4 separate regions of the Homo sapiens genome follow, and all the other regions are linked to region 1. The links are contacts of gene promoters, found by promoter capture Hi-C in blood cells and fetal thymus (Javierre and others, 2016). All regions are on one chromosome and are shown on one strand. Each heading gives the region's core, a stretch centred on a gene start or on the middle of the fragment in contact. The rest is flanking DNA. Distances are from core to core; before and after follow the strand shown.

The links. The method cuts DNA at HindIII sites, captures the fragments that hold promoters and counts their contacts. A CHiCAGO score of 5 or more calls a contact.
Region 2: a contact is called between a fragment that was not itself captured here and the fragment with the promoter of GPR37 in region 1, in 4 of 17 cell types (endothelial precursors, M0 macrophages, megakaryocytes and 1 more). The highest score is 13.7, in endothelial precursors.
Region 3: a fragment that was not itself captured here is called in contact with the fragment with the promoter of GPR37 in region 1 in 3 of 17 cell types (endothelial precursors, megakaryocytes and erythroblasts); the score reaches 8.5 in endothelial precursors.
Region 4: a fragment that was not itself captured here is called in contact with the fragment with the promoter of GPR37 in region 1 in 1 of 17 cell types (endothelial precursors); the score reaches 5.9 in endothelial precursors.

Annotation. Positions count from the first base shown.
Region 1 is chr7:124,762,758-124,769,637 of GRCh38, reverse strand. It overlaps GPR37 (G protein-coupled receptor 37), which reads left to right and starts at 3,846. Exons shown (of 2, transcript NM_005302.5): 1 at 3,846-5,684. The coding sequence starts at 4,662. RefSeq lists a silencer at 3,705-3,834. The HindIII fragment of the contact is 5,609 bases long and covers 1,393-6,880 here.
Region 2 is chr7:124,148,877-124,155,756 of GRCh38, reverse strand. No RefSeq gene overlaps it. Among named protein-coding and RNA genes, the nearest start is that of TMEM229A, 120 kb to the right of the region's middle. The HindIII fragment of the contact is 984 bases long and covers 3,091-4,074 here.
Region 3 is chr7:124,164,239-124,171,118 of GRCh38, reverse strand. No RefSeq gene overlaps it. Among named protein-coding and RNA genes, the nearest start is that of TMEM229A, 130 kb to the right of the region's middle. The HindIII fragment of the contact is 536 bases long and covers 2,220-2,755 here.
Region 4 is chr7:124,192,436-124,199,315 of GRCh38, reverse strand. No RefSeq gene overlaps it. Among named protein-coding and RNA genes, the nearest start is that of TMEM229A, 160 kb to the right of the region's middle. The HindIII fragment of the contact is 1,858 bases long and covers 2,603-4,460 here.

The DNA.
Region 1 (6,880 bases), core at 2,597-5,096:
TTGGTGGTATGTTACAGTTTCTTTCAGAAAAAATGACCCTTTTGAATTATCTGAGGCAAAAAAGAAAGAAAATTATTTGATAAGTGAATTGTGTGCTGGGTAAAGCTTCTGTTCAACGATGTATCTTAAAACTTGAAATAGTAATTTCTCTCATTCTGTGATGTGTGTTATTTCAGCACACCAAACACCAAATGAAGTGTAATAGATTTTATAAAAATGCCAAGGCAGGTAATAATTTACATGTTCTTTTTTTATTAAAAAAATCAATAGTATGTATTATAAACCTTGTGAAATGCTGACACAGGAAAAAAAATCCATGTTCAAATCAGTTTTCTTTGTACAGATAAATGGCCTCAGATGTAAACCAGACAATGATTAGCTAATTCCTTTTCTGATCTATATTTCTAAAGTAGAATCTACACAAATGAATGAGATGTGACTATTTCCATTTAAAATTTATAGTTACAGCTGAGCTAAGCTTTGGAAAAATATTTGAAGATGTGTGTTTTTCTTTTTGCAGGGAATGCATTCTAAATTTTCTTATAAACCTATTACTTTACACTTTTATTTACCAAGCATATTCTTTTTCAAGGATTATGTGTTTTTGACAGCATTTAAATTTCACTAAAAACAAAGTTGAACTACCAAGAGCAACAGTAATAAATATTTTATACTTTATGTAGTCTTTTCATATCTACCTAATCCACATAACAACTTGGGTGAGCAGAGCTGAGAGTAGGTATTAGTATCCTTATTATACAGATGAGAAAATTGTGTTTCCAAAAATATAAATAATTGATATTTTTGGAAACACAATTTTATAAATAATTGATATTGACCTGGGCTCCAATAGAGTAGCTGGAGCTCTTTGGTTTTATTCATGGTCCGAATAAGTTAGAGAACCAGAACTTGGCAACCATCCAAGTAGGTAGGCATCATTGTTCAGGTTAAGGAAGGGACCACTCATGAATGAGATACCACCACAGACAAACACAGGTAGCTCCTCCTTCAGGCCTTTCCCCAGCCACTCTCCAAGCATGGTACCTGAGTTCTATAGCCCACCACTTTAAGAATGATGCCCAACTCTGGGCCAAGCATGTGTGAATTACAATGGAGCTTCTAAGGGAGCAGGTAAAGGGATTTTTCCCTGTTTAGCTTTGATTCCTTTCTGTGTAGTGATAGAGATTAGTGACACATTTATGTGGTCTAGAGTAAAAAGGATAGAAACATATCTTACATGTGTAACTTAAACTCTAAGCTAATGAGATGAGAAGGGAAGCTATATCACTGTTTCATTTTGGCAACTTATTTTTCCTGTTTCATTATTAATCCAGATTTCCCTCTTCTAAATTTTTTTTAAAGAAACAAGATACTACAGTTAGAGTAGAAGCTTCCTTCCATCCCATGACCATTCTTCTATTTCCTGAGGTGACTAATATTCTGAAGTTGATCTGTATTTATTCCATTCACATATTTTATATGATACACCATGTATGATTATCAAATTGTTTTATGTGCATTTTAAGAGCTACACAAATGGTAGCATTATATAGTTAACACATCAAGTTCTACGTTTTTCCCTTACATTTATGTTTCTGAGATTCAGTCTTGGTGATACACATAAGCCTAGTTTGTCCTTTTTATGAGTATACAAGAAAATATAAATTCAGTGAGAGCAGAACTTTATTTTATTCACTGCTCTGACCTAAGTAACTTGAGCAGAATATTTCTTTAATGAAGTAGTGAATTTGAGAGAATGAGTTAGTGTATATAAATGAATGAATTAATGTACAAATGAATGTGTGCTATTAGCTTATATTTTTTCCTATTTCTGGCTTTGTCTGATTTTGACATTAAGGTTATTCTGCCTTCACAAAATGAACTGAGTAGCTTTAAAACATTTTGTATAAATGTATATTTATTCCGCAGGATATGCTAAGGTCTAGCACTTTCCTCTGGGTAGATCTTGATGAATGATTTGATTTCTTTAATGTTATAGTTCGATTACAGTTTCTGAAAATTTTCTTCTTGAACTATTTTTGGTAGTTTATGTTTTTCTATACAATTATTCCTGTTGTCTCCATTTTTAGATTTAATGGTGTATTAGTTTACTATTGCTACTGCAACAAATAACCATAAATTTTGTGGCTTAAAACAACACACATTCATTATCTTACAGTTATGGAGGTCAGAAGTCTCAAATGGGCTAGTAGATCCTTTTTTATGCCCATTCTAGCTTCCAGAGATTGCCCACATCACTTGGCTTGTGTTTGTTTTTACTCTGACCCTCCTGCCTCTCATTTGTAAGGGCTCTTGTGATTATAGTGTACCCACCTGGATAATCACGATACTCTCCCCATCTCAAGAGTCTTAGCTGAATTGCATTGGCAAAATCCCTTTTGCTCTGTAAGGTAACATACTCACAGGTATTAGGAATTAGGATTCGGACATTTTTTTGGGGGGGCATTATTCTATTTACCACAATTGGTATCATATGTTCCATTGTGTTTTCTCCTGCCTCTCTAGATGTGTTGCTTTAAAAAAATTCAGGCCGGGTGTGATGGCTCACGCCTGTAATGCCAGCGCTTTGGGAGGCCGAGGCGGGCGGATCACGAGGTCAGGAGCTCAAGACCAGCCTGGCCAACATAGTGAAACCCCGTCTCTGCTAAAAATACAAAAAAAATTAGCCGGGCATGGTGGCGGGTGCCTGTAGTCTCAGCTACTTGGGAGGCTGAGGCAGGAGAATCGCTTGAACCCGGGGAGGCGGAGGTTGCAGTGAGTCGAGATCGCACCACTGCACTCCAGCCTGGGCGACACAGCAAGACTCTGTTTAAAAAAAAAATTCAGAATGTGTTTATTTCTTCCTCTATCATTTTCTCTTCATTAATTTGTCTATTTTATTAGCTATGCCCTGACAGTTTTGACAGGGTTGTGGGATATAGTAGAAAGGTTGGAAAGGCATGGACAGCCGTGCTGGGAGTGCTGTTCGAGTAATTTTCTGCCTCCAGTCATTTCCCACTACTTCATCAAATACAACTACCTCACTATGCTCTGGGTGGTACGAAGTAACCCATGGTAGGATGCTTCCCAACTCAGTGTTAAAGGTAATGGTGCATCCTGAGCTTTCTCGCTCTGCATCTCAATCCTGGAACTGGTAATTCTCTATGACTGACACCTCTGAGCTCCCATTCTCTCCTATCTCTAGGGAATACCTGAGGAGGTGAGGTTTCACCTTCTTACTCCCCGCGGCCCAACCCCCGTCCGCCCCTCCCCCGCCCCGCCCCTCGCCCCCCAGAGCTGAGACCTGGGCATGCGCATCAGCCGCAACAGATTGGAGGGGACCCTGCTGCTCACTCCCCTGCTACCCTCCTCTCTTCCCTCCCCCGACCGCTCTCATATTCCCGTTCCCACCCCCACCCCCCACTCCCGCCCCGCACCCGCCCCTAGCCCGGGCTCGGGGACCTGTCAGGCTGGTTTCGACAGCTGGGGAATTAACCTGTCCCGCCCATCCCTAGCCTCGAGCCGCGCAGGCTCCGCGCCTCCGCCCTTGTTCCCTCCCAGCTCCTCCGAGTGGAAGCCGCTACAAATGGCTTGAATGAAACGTGTGTGGGTTTAGTGAGTGGTGAACCACCAGGGGATCCCGTCTCCCCACAAACCAGTATCTCTCCGAGGAGGAGGCGAAGGAGTGGGAGGAGGCAACGAGCCGAGAGTCGAGCTTCGCGGGCGCGCGCAGCGGCTGGAGCGCGGGGGCGAGGCCGGGCCACCTCCCCTTCCCGGCCGCGCACTGCCTGGCCCGCGGCGGTTCCAGGCACCACCCTTCCCGTCCGGGCTGAGCCCGCTGTGGCAGTGACTAGCTCCCGCGGCTAGCGGCACTGTCCACCGACGAGCGGCGCCCTCTTCTCCCCCTTCTCCCCACGATTTCCTTCTCTGCGGCGGCACGCCGTCCAGCAGCCTGCTTCGCCCCGTCGTCAACTTTGAGCTGGAGGAGAAGCAACTTTGGCAGTGGCCGCGGGGTTGGAATCCCGCTTCTCCTCGGCAGCAGTAGGCTCGCAAGTCGCTGGGGTTAGGTGGGGCAAGAGTTTCGCCGGCGCATCAGCGCTGCTTCGGACTGTTTGCAACGTGTTTCCAGCGAGCTGGGAGCGGGGTTGTGACTGCGAGTCGTCTGGGGGAGGGGGACTTGTTTTTCTTTTCCTCTAGAGACCTCGGCTTGCAACTGGATCAAACGCTGTCGAAAGGATGTAAATAGGCAGAGCAACTGTTACCAAGAAGGCCACCACCCCCACCCAAAGGCAGTGAGGAGTGTGGGGCTTCGTCTGGGCTCCCCCGAGTCTCAACAGTAATCAACAGTCAGGTGTTGATTGCAACTTTTCAAGGTCAGCCACCGGGAGTAGCCTATTCCCTCTAGGAACCTTGGAGGGCATACCTTGCTGGGACTCAACTTGGCTGAGAAATGCACAAGATGCCAAAGGAGGAAGGATTATAGGGGGCGTGTGTGTGACCCCCAAGACCGATCTTCCGCTATCACCCTAATCTCCGGTTCCCCGCTACCCGGGCGGGGGTGAGTATGTGACATGTGCCTAACTCTCAGCAGCAACTTCGGCAGCAGGTGTCGATCCTAACTAAGCAGGAGCTGCGGCTGCCGGGTGTGCCCTCACCAAGCCATGCGAGCCCCGGGCGCGCTTCTCGCCCGCATGTCGCGGCTACTGCTTCTGCTACTGCTCAAGGTGTCTGCCTCTTCTGCCCTCGGGGTCGCCCCTGCGTCCAGAAACGAAACTTGTCTGGGGGAGAGCTGTGCACCTACAGTGATCCAGCGCCGCGGCAGGGACGCCTGGGGACCGGGAAATTCTGCAAGAGACGTTCTGCGAGCCCGAGCACCCAGGGAGGAGCAGGGGGCAGCGTTTCTTGCGGGACCCTCCTGGGACCTGCCGGCGGCCCCGGGCCGTGACCCGGCTGCAGGCAGAGGGGCGGAGGCGTCGGCAGCCGGACCCCCGGGACCTCCAACCAGGCCACCTGGCCCCTGGAGGTGGAAAGGTGCTCGGGGTCAGGAGCCTTCTGAAACTTTGGGGAGAGGGAACCCCACGGCCCTCCAGCTCTTCCTTCAGATCTCAGAGGAGGAAGAGAAGGGTCCCAGAGGCGCTGGCATTTCCGGGCGTAGCCAGGAGCAGAGTGTGAAGACAGTCCCCGGAGCCAGCGATCTTTTTTACTGGCCAAGGAGAGCCGGGAAACTCCAGGGTTCCCACCACAAGCCCCTGTCCAAGACGGCCAATGGACTGGCGGGGCACGAAGGGTGGACAATTGCACTCCCGGGCCGGGCGCTGGCCCAGAATGGATCCTTGGGTGAAGGAATCCATGAGCCTGGGGGTCCCCGCCGGGGAAACAGCACGAACCGGCGTGTGAGACTGAAGAACCCCTTCTACCCGCTGACCCAGGAGTCCTATGGAGCCTACGCGGTCATGTGTCTGTCCGTGGTGATCTTCGGGACCGGCATCATTGGCAACCTGGCGGTGATGTGCATCGTGTGCCACAACTACTACATGCGGAGCATCTCCAACTCCCTCTTGGCCAACCTGGCCTTCTGGGACTTTCTCATCATCTTCTTCTGCCTTCCGCTGGTCATCTTCCACGAGCTGACCAAGAAGTGGCTGCTGGAGGACTTCTCCTGCAAGATCGTGCCCTATATAGAGGTAATGCCTTCCAGGGGCTCTCAAGCTAGTGGCTTTATCTGTTTTCGGGATTATAGCATCAGAGAACTGCTGCTGGATGCACCTATCTAGCTGAACGCCTTTCCTTTTTATCTGGGGCCCTCTTTCATTTCTCTTTCCAATCATTTATGCATGTATGTATATACAAAAAGAGGCAGCTTCGCGAAATCACCTTCAAATTCATCTGCTCCTGGGCTGTAAAAAAAGGATGATCTCACAATATACAGAATTGTTTGGAGTATAAATCTATCTCCCTGAATATGGTGTTATGCGTATTTCTGATTTGGCACTTGTCAGAGATTTTAGGGTTAAGTAAATGGCCAGCCTAAGGTTGTCATCATCAGAGCCTACAAGGAAAAAAAAAAAAACATTAGCATTTGTGTACTAGTTACCAAGTGCTTCAATGTGAGTTTTCCCCCAAGAAGATTATTGCATTTTTTCTTAAACAGCAAAGTTGGAGTAACATTTTATTGAAAGAAAGAAAGAAAGAAAATTGTGTTTGTCAGTTGGCCTCATGATATATTAATAACCTCTCAAATTAGTTTAAGTGTCTGACTGTCTTCCATGCTATCCCATCTAAATTCTTAAGTCATTTTTTGTTCCTGTCTTTTCCCATCTCGGTTTCTTAATTTTATTTTTGTGTGTTTGCGTGAACTTAAGCAAAAATAAGACTTTGGCCAGCGTGGCACATAATTTGTTTAACATTCTCAAAGTTATACATTTGTTATTTGTTATGGGTGGAAAGATTGGCTATTTTAAGGGATTGACCCTAAGACTAGAAAATTTCTTGGGAAGAAGGGGGCACATCTAGTTTCCAAACTTTGGAAACAAAAATCATTTTGAGTGAAATTGCATTGTTTCATCCTACAGCTAGTGTCCTGGCCCACTATTGTGGTAGGTGGACTTTGCTCTTTAAATGGCCTCTCTTTAAACACCAGCTCTTGGAAGGGGCCCAACTGTTTTGCTGCCAGTTGTGTTTTTAGCCAGCTGGCCCTTGATTTTCTCCATTCAGACTGTCCATTTCATTTATGGAAGCAGAAGAAGGGAAACTGTAAATATTCCGCAGCCCCTGATCCTGTCTGGCACCAGGGCCTGTGACACTATGTTCAACATTGTTCCAGGCCTAAAGCTGGGGGATAAGTAAACAGAAAACAGTACCTACTTAGACGGACCAAAGC
Region 2 (6,880 bases), core at 2,333-4,832, 610 kb after region 1:
TAATTGCACTTAAATGACAGTTTACAGTCCTTCATCTCATAGGAATTTTAAAAAACATGTATTTGCATTGTCCTCATTCAAAGACAATTTGAACAAATAATTTCACAGAATAAATTCAGGTCAGCACCACCATAGTCCTAAATGGCTTTACAAATACCACCCTCTAGTGTTTCAAAGAGGCAATTTGTATTCTCACTATAGAAAAGTTCAAATCATTATAACTATTGGAAAGTCAACGCTGTGAATGATACGGCCATGGGCAGACTGAACAGCATAATAAGCTCTATTTAGTGTAATCCAGTCCTTGTGAGGAACAAACTTGCTTCAATTTCTTTGGCCAGATTGCTAGTTTTTTAAAAATTTTTGAAATAAATGAATAAATATGAAACGGTAAAGCTGATTTCACATTCTACACGGATAAATGCAATAGCAAAAAGGATGCATGATCCAGTTTTCTCTGTTTTTTACTCACAAAGCAGCAGATAACATCATCTATTAATTAGTATAACCTACTTTAAAATTAAAATACGAAAACAATAATTATATTGCCGCCTAGATTTTGAATATTAGCACTGTATATAAACTCCTATAGTATATAAATGTTAATATCTAAATATAAATAGCTTATAAATGCTTGACAGGATAAGGTATAGAAGTCTCATTATCACATAATTTAACGTATTATAGAATGCAGTGTAATTGAGTCTACATTAGTGTACTATAATGAGAACATATTATAAACTAGGACATGAGCTTCTTTGCATCATTAATTGAGTAATAAATTGTCAAGCTATAAGTTTGGGAGAGGTAGTATTGATATTTATTCTGAGAAAAAAACAAAACACATGTTTATATGATAACATTAAATTCCATAGGACATTTTTTTTGAGACATGGTCTCACTACATTGCCCAGGTTGGTTTCAAACTCCTGGGCTCAAGTGATCCTCCCATTTTGGCCTCCCAACATTCTGTGATTGCAAACATGAGCCACAATGCCCAGTCAGGATTTTTTTTTAGAAGAAACATTTTCAGAAGGTTCGTAGACATTAAGCACACATTTCTGTTCTGAGGTATATGTGCTTTTAGACTATACATTTAAGAATGTAGACCTAAATTGGATTAAATTAGAACATCTAGCTACTTGGTAAATAAAGGCAAAACCACAAATTAAAAAAATACAAAAATTAAAATGAAAGAAAGAAAATGTGCATTTACTAAATACAGCAAGGTTCTGGCAGCTTCAGCCCCAAACTCATCATACCCAGGCAAGGGACCCAGGAGAACACTCAGGAAGAGGGAGCTTAAGCTGGAGGTATGGAATCAAGCAAGAGGTATGGAACTCAGAAATAACCATAACATAATAAGAAAAATGGGGGAGCTACATACAGCACAAGTGGAGCCAAGCAGGGTCCAACCGAAATGAACTGGACAGAAAAACAGACCCAGGTATAGGACAGATCCAGGGAGTTTGAAGAGAAGTCAAGCCTAGGGCTCCTGTGTTCTTTGTTTAATCAAAGGGATTTTTACTGGGCTCCTTTGGCCTTGTCTACATGTTACAAAGGGATATGGAAAAGGACTGCACACTCCTCTTTAAAAATCCCTACCATTTAATTTCCCTTCCCTCCCAGAGGCTCTTCATTGGATATATAAACATGAGAACATCAATAGAACAGAACAGAAAGAACAGACCAGAAAGTAGAGTTGAATGGAGTTGAACTCAAGTGGGCATATGTTCTAAAAAGATTCACATAAGCCAGATTTTGAAAGGGCCTCAAATTTGTGGACTTAGGCACTCAAGAGCCAAGACACAAATGCAAATGCTTCTGTTATTCCCTGACCCTTTGGTAAGTTCCACTTTTGAAATCACTTCTTCCCACAAAGCTTGGACCCCTGAGGTTGATTCTTTCTCAGGGCAATAAGTATAGAGCATGATCATAAAAGAATGAAATGGATTTTTTAATAAGCATATCAAAGAATATATACAGATGGGTTGGTCCCTGAGACTAAGGCCAGCCTTTACTTCTTAGCAACCAGAATTCTAATAACTGTCATTAACAGTACTCAGTCCAAAGTACCATATTATCAGCTTGAGTTCCCATATCTTTAAAATTAGTAGGAAGTATTTCTTATATTATTCATTTTGATTAATAACTCATATCAGTTATTTTAGAAAACTCCATTTTCATGGTTTAGAAATGAGGTACAGTTATATTATCACAGCAATAACAAAACAGAGTTAGTCAAAACTGACATTTGCCAATTTCTAAAAGCCTAATAATAGCTAATATAGAAATGAAAAATGAGGCTGACTCCCATGTACTGTGAGTCAGACTTCCAGGCTTGGAACAGCCTTATGACTCCTCTTCCTGCCCTCCAGCCTTTCCTTATGGTCTCTGATGCATGCACCAGGCTCTATCTTTGTAACTCCTCAGACTGTTGTTTAAAGGGCAGATGAAGGAGACAGGAAAAGAAAACAAAGTGAGTGAAATTTAAAAGGATAGGCAGTGGGGAAAAAAGTACACATAAAAAAATCAAATTATTTATCTTGTGTGTCTAGTACAGTCTCTGAAGATGATGCCAAAAGTGAAGTTCTGAAAAGTTCTGAGCAGGGATAGAGATAGAGAATCACCTTCCTGTTGGTCCCTGCCTGCTCCTACACTCTGGCCTGTCAGGCTCAGAACTCTACCAATAATTTTGCTGTCTCCCTCTCCTGACTTGATCTTGAAACTGCAACCCAGGGACATGAAGTGACATATTCAAGACCTTACACTGGTCATCTGTGTCAGAATTCAGACTGCTTTTCACTATAGACTCACAGGCTCTGGATTCAGCATGTATCTCAGATCCAGTACCAGATGATTCTTTCTTCTTGGAATCTAAAAGTAGCGTCACAGAGATTGCATTAGCAAGCATGAAAACTTCAACCAAAGGACCAGATGAACTTGGACTTGAGGATTAGGCATGAGTAGCCAATCTATAAAAAGAAAAGAATAAAGCAGATGTACATCTGGGATTAAGGACTTGTATGTGTGTGTTTGTGTGTGTGTGTGTGTGTGTGTGTCAGAGAAACAGAAAAACAGAGAGAAGCTTGATGACTTTTCCCTTTCCCATTCATGTGAGGCACAGTACTTCTTGCAGTTTGATCTCATAAAAGTCCCTGTATTCATAATTGTCCTCCTCAAATCCTCCTTAATGTTATTTAAGCAAACTTCTGTTTATTGTAACAACTACTTAGCTATAGGCCTCCTACCAACTAGAAAGTAAGACACATTAAGGGGCAATAATAAAAAAGTGATACTCTAGCCACTACTGACATTAGGAGAGAAGTTCTCAATCTCCATGACAGCAACTTGGCAGCTTTGTTTCACAAATGAGTGATTATTATTCTAAAAGTAAGGAAGCACAACCTGACTTTAACGCTTACTATGAAACAATAATCAAGACAGTATGGTATTGGTGAAAGAACAGACAGATAAATGGGACTGAATTGAGAATCTAGGAATAGATCCACATTAAATACAGCAAACTAATCTTCAACAAAGGACCAAAAGCAATACAGTGGAGCAAAGAAAGACTTTTCAGCATGTGGTGCTGAAACAACTGGGCATCCACAGGAAACAAAATGAATCTAGATACAGATTTTACACTCCTTGCAAAAATTAACCCAAAATGTATCATCGATTTAAATGTAAAATGCAAAACTATGAAACTCCTAGAAGATAACAGAGGGGAAAACCTAGATGACCTTGGTATGGTGATAACTTTTAGAAACAACACCAAATGCATGATCCATGAAAGCACTAATTGATAAGCTGGACTTGAGTAACATTTTTAAAACTGCTCTGCAAAAGAAAACATCAAGATAGTGAGAAAACAAGTCACAGACTGGGAGAAAACATTTGCAAAAGGCATATCTTACTAAAGGAAAACTTGACAATTAAAAAAAATAACTCAATTGGAAAATGGCCAAATATCTTAATATTAGGTTGGTGAAAAAGTAATTGCAGTTTTTGCCATTACTTACTTTTAATGGAAAAAAACCCAATAACTTTTACACCAAGTTAATACAAGCTTGTTCAGCCCGTGGCCAAGGATGGCTTTGAATGCAGCACAATGCAAATTAGTAAACTTTCTTAAAACGTTATGAGATTTTTTTGTGTGATTTTTTTTAGCTCATTAACTATCTTGTTAGTGTATTTTATGTGTGGCCCAAGACAGTTCTTCTTCTTCCAATGTGACCCAGGTAAGCCAAAAGATTGGACACCCCTGCCTTAATAGACACATCACCAATGAAAGTATACAGATGCCAAATAAGCATATGAAAAGACATTCCACATCATATGTAATCAAGGAAACATAAATTAAAACGAGATACTATACACCTATGAGTATGAGTAGATACTACTATACATCTATGAGAATGGCCAAAATCTAGAACACTGACAATAGCAAATGCTGATGAGGATGTGGAGCAACGGGAACTCACCCATTGCTGGTGAGAATGCAAAATGCTACAGCCACTTTGGAAAACAGTTTGTCAGTTTCTGACAAAACCAATGCAATCGTGCTCCTTGGTATTTACCCAAAGAAATTGGAAACTTATGTCCATACAGAAACCTGCACATGGAGGCTTATAGCAGTTTTATTTTCAAAAACTTGGAAGCAACCAAGATATCCTCCAGTAGGTGAATGGATTAATAAACTGTAGTATATACAAACAGTGAAATACTATTGAGTGCTACAAAGAAACAAGCTATCAAGTCATGAATAAACTTAATGTATAGTAGGAAACTTCAACGTATATTACTAAGTGAAATAAGCCAATCTGAAAAGGCTACAAACTGTTAATTCCAACTATATGACATTCTAGAAAATGCAAAACCAAGTAAACAATAAAAAGATCAGTGGTTGCCAGGGGGTTTGGATGGCAGAGAAATTAATATATAGAGCATAGAGGATCCTTTAGGACAATGAAATTACTCTGTATGATACTATAATGATCAGTATATGTCATTACACATAGTTTCCAATCCATAGAATGTACACCACCAAGAATGAACTCTATTATAAACATGGACTTTGGATGATGTGTCATTGTAGGACATTAATATGTGTCAATGTAGTTCATCAAGTATAACAAATTTACCACTCTAGTGGGGGATATTGATCATGGGAGAGGCTTTGCACGTATAGGGGTAGAGGTGTTCTGGAAAAATCTCTGTACTTTCCTCTTAATTTGTCTGTGAACCTAAAGCTGCTCTTAAGAATAATTTTTTTTTAAAAAGTAAACTTCTGAATAAAGAATCATAAAAATGGGTCAACATATAAACACGTGTTCTTAACAACATTTTTATTACTTAAAAGAATAGTGAATTCCAGACTACTTGTGTCTAGAATCTCTATGTACAGTGTTCAAGATAAGGAGACAGAATTAATAAGTTAACTTGCTGTGACAGGATACAGTAAGTGCTCGTAGAGAGAACCACTAACACTGAGTATAGGATATTATCCTTAATCAAAGTTAAAAGGGAGTGGAGTCACTTAGCTGTCTTTCTCCCTTTTAAATATCATCAGCTTTTAAGTAACTTTTAAGTAACTTTCTGACACTAGTTGACTGATTATATACAATAAGATGAGTTATAAAATAGAAATGTAAATTTTCAAGAAATACAGTTAAAAGGTACATTTTGAAAGATTTATCAGATGGACTTTGAATAAAAGGAAAATAGTTCCCCACAAGTTAGAATAAGAAGCTCTCAAAGGAATCATAAGTGTCCCTAATAGAATTACAGATTCTAAAGAAATACCTACTATATCTCAAACCCAGAATAGCTATATGAAAGCAGTGACAGCCCTCTTTGTAGGAGGTGAGACATCTCAAATTGTGTTTCTGATTTCACAGCAGCATTTTCCACTGCCCCTCATTTGTGAATTATATTTTAAATTATTGAATGCCTTAAAATAACTGCAAACAGACCAAACTAGGGTGTCAGGATTGGGAGTCATCACAGTACTTGGCTTTGCCATCTTGTGGTGTGGCTTTACTCCCATGCCACTAATACAGCATATTTACAAACCTAAGGGTCAAATAATGGCAGAGGAGACTGTAACCTTCCAAAGTAGAAAGTTAAGCAGTCAAATACAGCAGAACTTGGGTGTGGGGTATTCTTCAAAAGTAAAGTCCATCCTATCATTACAAAAATTAAGATGTTTTTACTTGGTATTCTTTGCCAAACTCCTTGTTTACAACAAAAATCTCTTAGAACTATAAATCAATCAAGGACATCACTAAAATGCTACCTGTGAGATTACCTTTGAAGTGATATCATGTTAAACTAGGATCATCCTCCTTCTCAGCCTACGAAGTGAGATTTAAGGGGCTCAAAACTCCCAACTCATTCAACTCACCTTTAATTAAGGTGAAAGACACCTTGTTTCTTTGGAGTTAAAGATGGAATCCTAACATCGTAATTTAAGATGTAAATAATTACTAAAACCTTGGGTGTAGTAGGAAGGAGACATAGTATGAGAGTTCCTGAAGACTGGATAAAATATTCTTTGAGGAAAAGTGTGTGGGAAAAGTAGGCTAGAGAGAATTAAAAGGACACTATTACATTGCCCAAGATAGGTCCTCCTTAATAAGGTTCTTATGGTTCTTTAGAAATAAATGGCTTTGGAAGAAATCCAAAATAGTCCTACCTTAAAGAGTATTATACTTTATGGAGGATTGTATTATAGTAGCTTCAAATGCATTAGCCTCTGTAATTTTTTCTCTCCCATAATCTTCCAGCATATGTATCTATCATAGGACTAGCATTTTTAAAATTTTGCATCTTGCTCTACATGTCTTAGTGAATAAATATCATTCGTACTCTTTGT
Region 3 (6,880 bases), core at 1,238-3,737, 600 kb after region 1:
TGGAAACTTTTGGATTTTAATCAACTAAGTATTGAGGTAAAGAGGCTGCTACTCAGTGATAAATAGTCTAAAGCCTAAATTTAATCAGTCTCTCTAACTTTCTCTCAGGTAAAACATAGCAAGCCTGTGTTTCCCTCTGTGTGATCTTGGCAAGCCACATTAACACAACAAGCTCACACTTCCTCATCTTTAAATTGAAATTATTTTACAAAATGATCTCTGAGTTCTCCTCCATGTAGGAGGTTATAAATTTTTCAAGAAGGAAGTAATCAAGAAACTTAACATATCAAAATAAAATTACACAAGGTAGTAAAAATTTCTAATCTTCCAATTCCAAGGTTTTAGAACTTCAAAAGCTTTATAAATTTTTAAGACACTCTTTTCTCCCGTGAGGCCCAGAGAGAAGTCATGTGTAATGTTCCTCAAATATGCAGAGCAAAAAGATAAAGTGGTTAGGGAGAAGGGCTGGGACCTCATACTTTACCCACTAATGTGACAAAGATGCAGTGCTGAAAGATTTTGTAAACTCTAGGTAAACTTTGAGAACACATAACAGGTGGAGTTACCCTGAAACAAATGCTGATATAAAAGTGTTAATTAGTTGAAAACACACAACCTAAAATTTTAGGATTGAATCAGTGATGGTAGAAGGGGCTGGAGTAGCATAAGACGGGGAACATCACCTGGCTCTAGCAAAAGCAAACACAAACACTGTGGGAATTTAAGCACTCTCAGTTTAGTCAACTAGGTTTTACATATGTAAAGATCAACAAAATATGTAGAGTAGTCCTCTTATCCAGTGTTTCACTTTCCACGGCTTCCATCACCCACAGTGAATCATGGTCAGAAAATATTAAATGGAAAATTCCAGAAACAAACTATTTACAATTTTTTAATTGCATGCCATTCTAGGTGGTGTGATGAAACCTCTTTCCATCCTGTTTCATCAATTCATCTCAATCACATAGTCATTTCATCTCACGTCATTACAAGAAGAAGGGCGGGTACAGACGGTACAATAACACGTTTTGAGAGACAGAGGCCACATTCACATAACTTTTATGACAGTAAATTGCTGATAATTGTTCTATTTTATTATTGTTGTTAATCTTTTACTGTGTCTAATTTATAAGCTTTATTATAAATATTCAAGTATAGGGAAAAACATAGCATATCTAGGGCTCAGTTCTATTTGTGGTTTCAGGCATCCACTGGAGGTCTTGGAACATGCCCTGTGAATAAAGGGGAACTACTCTACTACCAATAAACATACATCAAAGGAGATAATAGATGTACTTCAGAGGAAAGGAAAGTAACCCTAAATGGAAAATCTGAGATGCAAGAAAGAATGAAGAGCGTAAAAAAATGATATATTTGTGTATTTGTTATTCAGAACAGGCTAGTTATATTAGGGCAATACATCAACCCCGAAAGCTCAGTGGCTTAACATAACGAGGTCTTTTTTTCACTCAAACTACATAACCAACAACAGTCACTAAGAGAATCTGCTCCAAAAAGTCACAGTGGTACCAAGGCTAATAGAGTTCCGTCTTCATGCAGCTGTACAACTGAAACATATAGTCTCTCAAGATGTCATGGTTGGGAAAGAAAACACATGGGAATATACATAGAAGTACATATGTCACCACTTCCAATCATAGCCCATTGGTCAGAATTAGTCATGTAACTCCATCCAACTACAAAAGAGCAGGCAATATAATAAAATTAAAATATTCATAACAAAGACTTGTCCACTGGGGAATTCAATCTTCTGGAGTCCTTGTATTATTTGGAAAGAGAATAAAGATATGTTTAGTAGTAGAACCAATTCTTCTCTTACCTCTCTAAATGAAAACTCAGGCAGATGCACTGACTTTTCTCTTCCCTGCTAGGCAAAACAAACTGTATACAGTCATTCCACACCACAAAATAAAGACTTGTTTAATGATTTAAATGCCCATGACCATACAATTGAAAAACTTTAATCTTGGTTTAAAATCCTAGATGGGATATGTAGGAGTCAGGAAGGGTGGGAGTAATCAGATTACTCTTTTTCCATTTTAGTTTCACTCCTTCTATCCCAGATTGCAAGATTTCTGCTGGTCCTTTGGAGTAGACATTGGGGGCAAGCACAGGAGTAAGAAAATAAGAAAATAATTTAATTTGTATAGCACTGGTAATCTTGTGTCAGCTTTCTGAACATTAAAAATGTTTAAGCTTCAGCTTTTTTATCTTAGGCAGTTGGAAACACTTCCCCTATTCCCACTTCAGTGCTAATCTAGGGAATCGCTCATCTGCAGTTCTCTTGGCAGGGAACCTTCTAGCCAGCTCTAACTTGGTCCTCACCACTAAAAATTCTATAAACCAGGCTTTTTATTTTGAGCTTCTCAATATACGTGCAGAATCTCAAAAGTGATACAGCTACTCAAAAAAGGGTGGGAGTGTCTTGATGTCTATACAACTTTTTTAAAAAGAAAACAAATTCACTATTCATCTTTTATTTTCCATGTCCACACAGAGCATAAGACTAAACAATTTTTGATATGTTTAGTAACATTAACTTTGAATTGAAAAATCTTTTTTTTTATATGGGTCTCACTATGTTGCCTAGTCTGGTCTTGAACTCCCAGACTCAAGCAATCCTCCCACTTCAGTCTCCCAAGTAGCTGGAAATACAGTCGTGAGCCACCATGCCTGGCAAAAGATCCATTATTATAACATAAAGGAAGCAAAACCTTTTGCCAAACAGAAAGCTTACACTACTTGAAAAATGACTTCATAAAATTCTAAAATCTTCTCAAAGCTATAATAAATATCTTAATTGTTCTAGTTGTCATCATCATCATTGTTGTTGAAGTTATGACTCTTTTTGTGACTACCATTATTACTATTCTTATCATGAACCGAGCAATATTTGATAGGCACTTTATGTGCCATCCCTTCTTACCTTTAGAACAATCAAAACTAATAAAAAGAAGATATTATTGGTCCCATTTTTATGCTTTGCTTACTTAGTTTTCTCTTTGTTTTTACATTCAGGGGATAGCTGTGCAGGTTTGTGGCATGGGTGTACTGTATAATGCTGCGTTTTTGGCTTCTAGTGAACCTATCACCCAAATATTTAACATTGTACCCAATAGGTAGTTTTTCAGCCCTTTCCCCCAGGCTTCTCTCCCCAATTTTGGAGTTCCCTGTATCTATCATTTTCATATGTATAACCCTGTGTACTTATTGCTTGGCTCTCTCTTATAGGTGAGATGGTGTAGTATTTGATTTTCTGTTTAAATGTTAATTCACTTAGCACAGTGGCCTCCAACTATGTCCACGCTGCTGCAAAATTTCATTCTTTATATGGCTGTGTAGTATTCTACGGTGTATATGTGCCACATTTTTTAAATCTAATCCACTGTTGTCGGTCACTTAGATTGATTCCATGACTTCGCCATTATGAATAGTACTGCAACAAACATACAAGTGCAAGTGTCTTTTTGATAACATGATTTATTTTCCTTGGGAAGATACCCAGTTGTGGGATTTCTGGGTCAAATGGTAGTTCTGTTTTCAGTTCTTTGCAAAATCTCCATACTGTTTCCCATAAGGGTTGAACTCCTTAACATTCCCACAAGTGTATAAATGACCCCTTTTCTCTGCATCCTCACCAACATCTGTTATTGTTTGATTTTTTGATAATGCCATTTTGACTAGAGTAAGATAAACATTTCATTGCAGTTTTGATTTGCATTTCTCTGCTGATTCCAGATGTTGAGCATCTTTTTACATGTTTGTTAGCTGCTTGTATGTCTTCTACATACAAGAGAAATGTCTGTTCATGTTCTTTGTCACTTTTCAATGAAGTTACTTTTTTCTTTTCTTGTTTATTGAAGTTCCTTATAGATTCTCGATATTAATCTGTTGGATGAATAGTTTGCTATACTCTTTCATTCTGTAGGCTGTCTGTTTAATCTGTTGTTTCTTTTGCTGTGCAGAATGTTTTTAGTTTAATTAAGTCCCATTTGTCTATTTTTGTTTTTGTTCTATTTTCTTTTGAGGTCTTAGCAATAAATGATTTGCATAGGCCAATTTCCAGAAGAGTTTTTCCTAGGTTTACTTCTAGGATTTTTATAGTTAAGTCTTACATTTAAGTCTTAAATCCATCTTGAGTTAACTTTTGTATACAGTAATAACTAGGGGTCCAATTTCATTCTTCTGCATATCACTAGCCAGTTTCCCAGCACCATTTATTGAATAGGGAGTCCTTTCCTCATTGCTTATCTTTGTCAACATTTTTGAAGATCAGTTAGTTGTTAAGTGTGTGGCTTTATATCTGGGTTTTCTGTTCTGTTCCATTGATCTGTGTGTCTATTTTTGTAGCAGTACTATGCTGTTCTGATTACTACAGCCTTATACTACAGTCCAAGGTCTGGTAAAGAGATGGCTCCAGCTTTGGTTTTTTTTGTGGTTGTTTTTGGTTTGTTTTTGGCTTTGCTTTTGCTTTTGCTTTTTTGGGGGGTGGGGGTTGTTTGTTTGTTTGTTTCTCTGCTTGATTAGAATTGCGTTGGCTATTCAGGCTCTTTTTGGTTCCATAAGAACTTTGGGATTTTTTTTTCTAATTCTGTGAAAAAACACACTGGTAATTTGATAATAATTGCATTGAATCTATAGACAGCTTTGGGCATTATGGTCATTTTAACAATATTGATCCTTTCTATCCATGAGCATGGAATGATTTTCCATTTGTTTGTGTCATCTGTAATTTCTTTCATCAATGTTCTGTGGTTTTCTGTGTAAAGGTCTTTCACCTCCTTGGTTAAATATATTCCTAAGTATTGTATTTTGTGTGTGAGGCTATTGTAAATGAAATTGGGTTCTTGATTTTGTTCTTGATTTGAAAATTATTGGTGTATAGAAATCCCACTAATTTTTGTTCACTGATTTCGTATCCCAAAACTTTACTGAATTTGTTTATCAGGTCTAGAAGTCTTTTGAAGGAATCTCTAGGAATTCCTAGGTATAGAATCATGTTGTCAGCAAACAGAGATAATTTTACTTCCTCTTTTCCTATTTGGATGCCTTGTATTTCTTTCTCTCATCTGATTGCTCTGGCTAGGACTACCAGTACTTTGTGAAATAGGAGTAGTAAGAGTGGACATCCTTGTCTTTTTCTAGCTCTTAGGAGGAATTCTTTCAACTTTTGTCCATTCTGTATGATGTTGGTTGTGGGTTTGTCATAAATGGCTCTTGTTATTTTGAGGTATGTTCATTCAATGCCTAGTTTGTTTGGGATTTCATCATGAAGAGATGTTGAATTTTATCAAATGCTTTTTCTGAATCTATTGAAATGATCGTATGGTTTTTGCTTTTGATTCTGCTTATGTGGCTAACCACATTTATTGTTTTGCATGTGTTGAACAATCCTTGCATTCCAGGAATAAGACCCACTTGATCATGATGAATTATCTTTTTGACATACTGTTGGATTTGGTTTGGTAATATTTTGTTGAGGATTTTGCATCTGTGCTAGTCAGAGATATTGGCCTGTAATGTTCTTTTTTTGTTGTGTCCTGGCCAGATTTTGGTATCAACATCATACTGGTTTTGTAGAATAAGTTAGGTAGGAATTCCTCCTCCTTGGTTTTTTGGAATAGTTTCAGTAAGATTGGTACCAGTTCTTCTTTGAACATCTAATAGAATTCAGCTATGAATCTGTTTGGTTCACTGCTGGTTTTGGTTGGTAGATTTATTATTGATTCATTTTCATAACTCATTATTAGTCTGTTCAGGATTTTTATTTCTTTGGTTCAAGCTTGGGAGTTGAGTGTTTTCAGGAATTTATCCACTTCCTCTAAATTGTCTAGTTTATGTGCACAGTTGTTCACAGTAGGGAGCTGAATGTTTTCAGGAATTTATCCACTTCCTCTAAATTTTCTAGTTTATGTGCACAGATGTTCATAGTAGGGAATTGAGTGTTTTCAGTAATTTATCCATTTCCTCTAGATTTTCTAGGTTTTGTGCATAGATGTCATTAGTAGTTTCTGAAGATCTTTTATATTTCTCTGGTATCAGTTGTATTGTCACCTTTGTCACTTCTGATTATACTTATCTGACTCTTTTCTCTTTTTTTCTTAGCTAATCTGGCTATCAGTCAATTTTATTTATCCTTTTGAAGAGGCAACTTTTTGTTTCATTAATCTTTTGTATGGCTTTTTCGGTCTCAATTTCATTTGGTTCTGCTCTAATCTTCATTATGTATTTTCTTCTACTGGCCTTGGATTTGGTTTGTTCTTGTTTTTCTAATTCCTTTAGGTATGATGTTAGTGCTATTAATTTGAGATATTTCTAACTTTTTATGTAGGCATTTAGCATGATAAACTTTCCTGTTAATGCTGCTTTTTTCTGGATCCCAGAGGTTTGCATATGTTTTATCTCTATTTTCATTTGTTTCAAAAATTTTTTGGTTTCTGGTTAATTTTTTTGCTTACCCAAAAGTCATTCAGGAGCAAGTTGTTTTGTTCCCATGTACTGTGTGGTTTTTGAGGTTTCCTCTTGGAATTGATTTTTAATTTTATTCTACTGTGGTCCAAGGACATGCTTGACATGATTTCAGGTTCTTTTTTTAATTTATTGAGACTTGCTTTATAACAGAGCACGTGATCAATTGTAGAGAATGTTTTATGCACAGATGTGAAAAAAAGTTTATTCTGTGGTTGCTGGGTGAAGTCTTCTGTAGATGTTTATTAGGTTCATTTTGTCAAGAGTCTAATTTACATTCAAAGTTTCTTTGTTAGTTTTCCGCCTCAGTGATTTGTCTAGTGCTGTAAGTGGGGTATTAAAGTTCCTTACTATAATTGCATGACTATCTCTATTGACAGGCTGTCTATTG
Region 4 (6,880 bases), core at 2,282-4,781, 570 kb after region 1:
CTGGCATTTCTAGGTAAAGTGGCAATCCTCTTGAAAAGATTACAAGTGTAAGCTATTAATCACAGCATTTAGATAAGCTGAGAGAGGGGGATACTACAGGGAAGGGATCTGCATGGGCAACAAAGAGAATCTATTACGTTTAACAAAACTACCTGATGAACTTTTGAAATGCACATACTGGAGTTCTACCTGGAAGATTACGTCAATAGGTCTGAAGTATGACCTGGGCATCTAAATCTTCTTAAAGCTCCATATAAAAGTTTTGAAGAGGTGAAGACAGAGAACCTGTACCTTTAAGAAGTAGGAGTTAGAGCCAGAAACTGAAGGACTACTTTCAGGAAATGTTTATTGAGACTGGGCATAAGCATTGCTGTCTTTGAGCATAAAAAACAAAATCTAGCTCAAAATGAGGAAAGGTGATGTATTAGTCCATTTTCACTCTACTGTAAAGAAATATCAGTACTGGGTAAATTATAAAGGCAAGAGGTTTAATTGACTCACAGTTCTGCATGGCTGGGGGGACCACAGGAAACTTACAATCATGGCAGAAGGGGAGGCAAACACATCCTTCTTCACAAGGCAGCAGGAGAGAGAAGTGCAGAGTGAAGGGGGAAGAGCCCCTTATGAAACCATCAGATCTCATGGGAACTCACTCACTATCGTAAGAACAGCATGGGGGAACTGCCCTCATGATTCAATCACCTCCCACGAGGTCCATCCTCTAACACATGGGGATTACAATTCAGATTACAATTCAAGATGAGATTTGGGTGGGGACACAAAGCCAGACTACATCAGTCACATTCTGCTCTTTTATCTGCAAGAACAAGTGGTAGCAGGATCTGAGAACACTGCAAAACGGAGCTAAGAAGCAGCATTCACTTAGGAGGTGCCAACATTAGCAGCAGAGTCAAGACTCCTCCCCAGTGATGGTGGTGGGGCTTCCTAGAAGATGCTCAAAGGGAGAAAATATACATGGGCTTATTCCTGTAAACCAATAAGACAACCCCAAGGCCTTCCACAAAAAAACTAATAAATATTAAAATCATGCAAGAAGGGGCTATGAAACATCATAATTTGAAAAGTAATGTTATTGTGACTCCATTTTGATGTATAGGCTGATAAAGCTTGAGCCATTTTGGGTTGCATAATATTTAGGAGGGCAAAAACAAATGAAAAGATCCCTGAAGTCTCTAGGCCTAAGAAAATGGTTGTATACATTAGGACAAGTTCATACAATGAAACACTATGCAACCATCAAAAGTCATGTCGTACAAACATAGTAACTATAGTTAATAACGATGTGTTGCATATTGAAAATTGCTGAGACAGATGGTTAAGTGTTTTCACTCCCACAAAAATATAATTATGTAAGATAATGTACATGTTAATTAGCTTGGTTTAGCCATTCCACAATGTATACATTTATCAAAACATCATATTGTACACTATAAATATAAATGATTTTTATTTGTAAACTTAAAAAGAAAACGTGCTAGGCACTTAAAAATAATATTGTACAATACATGCAATAATATTTATTTATATGAGGAGATGTTCCTTATAGACTGTTTAAATGAAAAACAAAACAAAATTCTATGTAACATATGTCAAGTTGTGAATATTTATCATCTCTGGAATTATGAATAAATTTTCTCTTTGTTAGGTTTTCTGCATTTAATATCTATTCTTTCAACAATTTAAAAACTATAATTAAAAATAAACAAAATACAGTAAAATAGAGCCTATAAATTTTCCCATTGTAAGAAATTTGTCATCTATACTGAATCTCAACTAGGATGAATACAGTCTGCCTTGATAATGTCACTAAAATTTAGCTGTTGTAGATGTATGCAACCCTTCACTGCAAAATAAAAGTAGCTGCTTGGTCCCTGAACACCTTAGTAAGCAGTCAAGGTCACAACTCATCTTTTCAGGGATTTTTGCATGGCACAAGACAGATGGGGAACTTCTTTGAATGCAACTGAGAAGGAAGAATTATCACTAACTACTTAGAAAAGATGTGAAGTTTAGAAAGTGAGTGAATTCCAACTAACAGCCTTAGCCCTCCCATTCTCTTTCTTTTACCTAACTCTTTGGGCAGGTAATTTTGATAGAAACAAATAAAAATTGACCTATATGATCTCAATTCTTTTAAGTTGCATAGAACAGAAGATACTGACATATTACTTCCCCAAAATAAAGAGAAGATAGTAAGTTTCCAGAAAAGAAAAAACAAAGCAACTAATAAAGATTAGAAGTAAAAATAGCACTTGATTTCTCATCGCAAACATTGGCAGTGCTAGAAGACAATTAAACAAACTTTCCCTTTAAAGTGCTGTGAAAGAATTATAGAGCCATAGGACAATTGATCAAATATGAGGGTAGAATAAAGCTATTTTAAAATGTGTACAATTTCAAAAAAATTACCTCCCATGCACGATTTCTCAGGAAGCTATTAGAACATGTACTTCAACAAAATGCAGGAATAAACCAGTAAAGAGGAAGACATGAGAATCAAGAAACCAGGAATGCAACACAGAGAAGAGTCAAATAGAAGTCTCTGAATAGCAGCAAAGTCATACCACTGCTTCACCAAGCTTGGCAAGCAAAGCCCTCTGATGTAGCAGAGGGCAAAGTGTTCCAGGAGCTGGTTCTACAGAACAAAAATGCAACTGATAAAAGATCTCGAGGTTAGACTGCATAGAAAACAATTTCAGATTTCCTGGAGGCTGCATAAAATTTAACTATTTAAAGATAATTAAAGAAGCATTAAAAATAAGAAGATTATCATCTCCAGCAAAATATAGAAAGTAGTACAGGGAACAAAATATAATTAGAGAATTTTTGCTCAAAGAAAACCATCTTTACATTGTAACAGGAAAAAATGTGTGTGGGTTTTACCAAATTTTTATTTAGAAATGATAAGGAAATAAGAAGTCTAAATGGTTCCAAATTCTAGTATGTCAAAATAGGAAATCAAGTGATAATATCTAAAAGTGATGAATCAACAAATAGCTATAGTCAATGGTATTTACATACATAGAACTAAATATTAGAAGGAACAACCAAAGAATTGAACATCTTTGCCTGTGAAGAGTCACTTAGGGATTCGAAGGGAAAAGCAGACTGATGCTTTTTTTGTCTCAGCACTATGCGATTTTTAAAATTGTTTTCCCACAATATATTGATACAACTAAAAATTATTTTAAAATTAAAAGTTTCTTCAGTGCTCCCCTCTGTCAAATCTTTAAAAGAATGAAAGAATCATATTTATTTTCCAAGTCAGTCTAAACAAAGTTTTAAGTCCATGCCTGAGATTTTATCCACAGCGTACAGCAACATTTCTGTCTTGCCAAATTGAGTTTGTTCAGCAGCTTAGAAACACTGGCAAGATACAAAACTAGTGCAAGCATATTTTATTTAAAAAATAGTTAGCAATATACTTTCTTTATCTGTAACATATTTGGTGAATTATTCATACTAAAACCCTGCAAATAAAGTTAGACATAAAAAATGCCCACATAATTAAAAATAATTTTGAAAAGTTTACAATAAAAATATACCCTGATAAAACTTGCATTTTGTATGAAAACTAACCAATGGTGTTTGAAAGATGTTGTCTGACTAAATCCTATAGAACATATAAGTAGCAAGTGAAGCTGACATTTCCTGAAGACGTAACACATCGTAAGCCGACTTTAAGACCTAGCTGTAGGTTAAGACGCAAGTCCTCTATCTTGTTTCATCTTCATCAAAACAAACAATCTAGTAATGTGTATTGGGATTCAGAGGCTTATTATATAAATCAGAAGTAAAGCCCGTAGAAAAGTAGAGTTTAAAATTTTCTTCTCAGGAGTTCACTGCCAATTAGGAATTTTACAACAAATACAAATGAAGAATGTTTTGAGTGCCCATAAATCTGAATAGGGCTGTATCCCAAAGCTATATACATTCTAATTTTATGAGAATTGGGAGAGGACTTAAAGGATAATACTAACTATATGTGATTTTCTCAGAGGTCTAATTTGATAATAAAATCCTTGTGCAAGATTCAGCTCTGCTTTACAAGGACTTCTTGAACATTACAATATAAGGAGATACCTCACCTGCAGAGTTTTCTACTTTTGTGATCATTCTATCAGCACAGGTGTCACTATGTGCCAACTTATTTGAGAGAGTATAAAATGTTAATCTTAAACATTTAATATTTTCTTCTTCTATTAGGTATATGTCACTTATTTTAAAAGTAGCAAGCCTCTTCACATTAATCTAACAAAACACATTACAAAAAAAAGACAAGCATAGTAATTGACAGCTTCTGATTTGTCACCACTAGACTGTAAAAATGTTACATAATTTCTGTCTTCAAATGAGTAGATGTATACATCAATCAGGATTTTGTATAATTGAATATGACAGAAAACCAAAATCATAGTTCCATAGACAAGACAGAAGCTTATATTCTGTTTTTTGTTTGTTTGTTTGTTTTTGAGATAGAGTCTTGCTCTGTCGGCCAGGCTAGAGTGCAGTGGCACAATCTCGGCTCACAGCAACCTCCACCTCCCGGACTCAAGCAATTCTCCTGCCTCAGCCTCCCGAGTATCTGAGATTATAGGTATGTGCCACAAAGCCCGGTTAATTTTTGTATTTTTAGTAGAGATGGGGTTTCATCACGTTGGTGAGACTGATCTCGAACTCCTGACCTCAGATAATCCACCCACCTTGGCCTCCCAAAGTGCTGGGATTACAGGCATGAGCCACCGTGCCTGGCCAGAAGCGTATATTCTTTTGTATAAAGGAATTCATAATAGGCAGCCCTGGGCTAGTAAGGTAGATTCTCAAGCCCAACAGAGATGCTGATCTACCATGCCTCAGTTGAGCAACATTGCTGCCAGAGTTCCAGCAATCACATTAGGTTTCAGGTAATGGGATGGAGAAAAGGAACAATAAAGATCAGAGGCACTCTCAGAATCCGCCATATAAAATTTCTACTTACATGACCACACCCAGTATAAAGAAGGATAGAAAACGCAGTCTTCATTCTTGGTGGTCTGTGCCCAGTGAAAAACTGTGGTTTCCTTTCTTAGGAAAGAGGAAAAGGATATTATAAAAGACAACTTGCCGCCACTGCCACCATGTGCATGCTTAGATACTTCTCTATGCTATATCAGGCAGTGGTAATCATTGTTGAGTGAAACTATAGAATGCTAGAGGAAAACCTGGGAAAACTTTTCTGGATGTTGGTTTAGGCAATTAATTCATGAATAAGATCTCAAAAGCAAATGCAACTAAAACAAAAATAGACAAATAGGACTTAATTAAACTGAAAAGCTTCTGCACAGCAAAAGAAATTATCAACAGAGTGAACAGACCACCTACAAAATGGGAGAAAAATATTTGCAAACTATGCGTCAACATAACACTAATTTCCAGAATCTACAAGGAACCCAAACAAGAAGAAAATAAATAACACCATTAAAAGTGTGCAAAGGATATTGTGATGGTTAATATGGAGTGTCAACTTGATTGGATTGAAGGATGTCAAAGTATTGTTCCTGAGTGTGCCTATGAGGGTGTTGCCAAAGGAGATTAACATTTGAGTCCATGGACTGGGAGAGGTAGACCCACCCTCAATCTGGGTGGGCACCATCTAATCAGCAGCTGCCAGCTTGGCTTGAATAAGCAGGCAGAAGAACGTGGAAGGACTTGACTCACTGAGTCTTCCAGCCTTCATCTTTCTCCTGTGCTGAATGTTCCCTGCCCTTGAATATCAGACTCCAAGTTCTTTGGCTTCTGGACTTTTGAACTTACACCAGTGGTTTGCCAGGGGCTCTCAGGCTTTTGGCCACAAATTGAAGACTGCACTGTCAATTTCCCTACTTTTGAGGTTTTGGGACTTGGACTGGCTTCCCTGCTCCTCAGCTTGTAGACATCCTATTGTGGGACTTCGTCTTGTGATTGTGTGAGTCACTATTCCTTAATAAACTCCCCTTTATATATATTTATATATATACATATATATACCCACACATACATATAGATATATAGCCTATTAGTTCTGTCCCTTTAGAGAACCCTGACTAATACAGATTTGAACAGACATCTTTCAAAAGAAAACATACAAATGGTCAGCAAACATATAAAAAATGCTCAACATCACTAATCATCAGAAAAATGCAAATCAAAACCACAATGAGATACCATCTCACAATAGTCAGTATGGCTATTATCAAAATGTGAAAAAATAACAAATGATGACAAGGATGGGGATAAGACAGAACACTTACATCCTTTTGGTGGAAATGTAAATTAGTAAAATCTCTATGGAAAACAGTATTGAGATTTCTTAAATAACTAAAAATAGAACTACCATTTGATCTAGCAATCCCACTACTGGGTATCTACTCAGAGGAAAACAAATCATTATACCAAAGATATCTGCACTCATATGTTTGTCTCAGCACTATTTACCAAAGCAAACATATGGGATCAACTTAAACATCCATGAACAGATGATTAGTTAAAGAAACGATAAACACACATACAAATACCATCAAATACTACTCAGCCATAAAAATGAATGAAACCATCTCTTTTGCAGCAGTATGAGTGGAACTGGAGGCCACTATCCTAAGTGAAATTACTCTTACACAGAAAGTCAAATACCACATATTCTCACTTATAAGTAGAAGCTAAAGAATGTGTACACATGGACACAGAGAATGGAATAGTAGACACTGGAGACTCAGAAATGTGGGAGAGTCGGGATATGAAGGATTAAAGATTACCTAATAGGTACAATGTACAACCTTTGGGTGATGGTTACTCTTGTAGCTCTGACTTCACCATTACACAATATATCCATATAACAAAACTG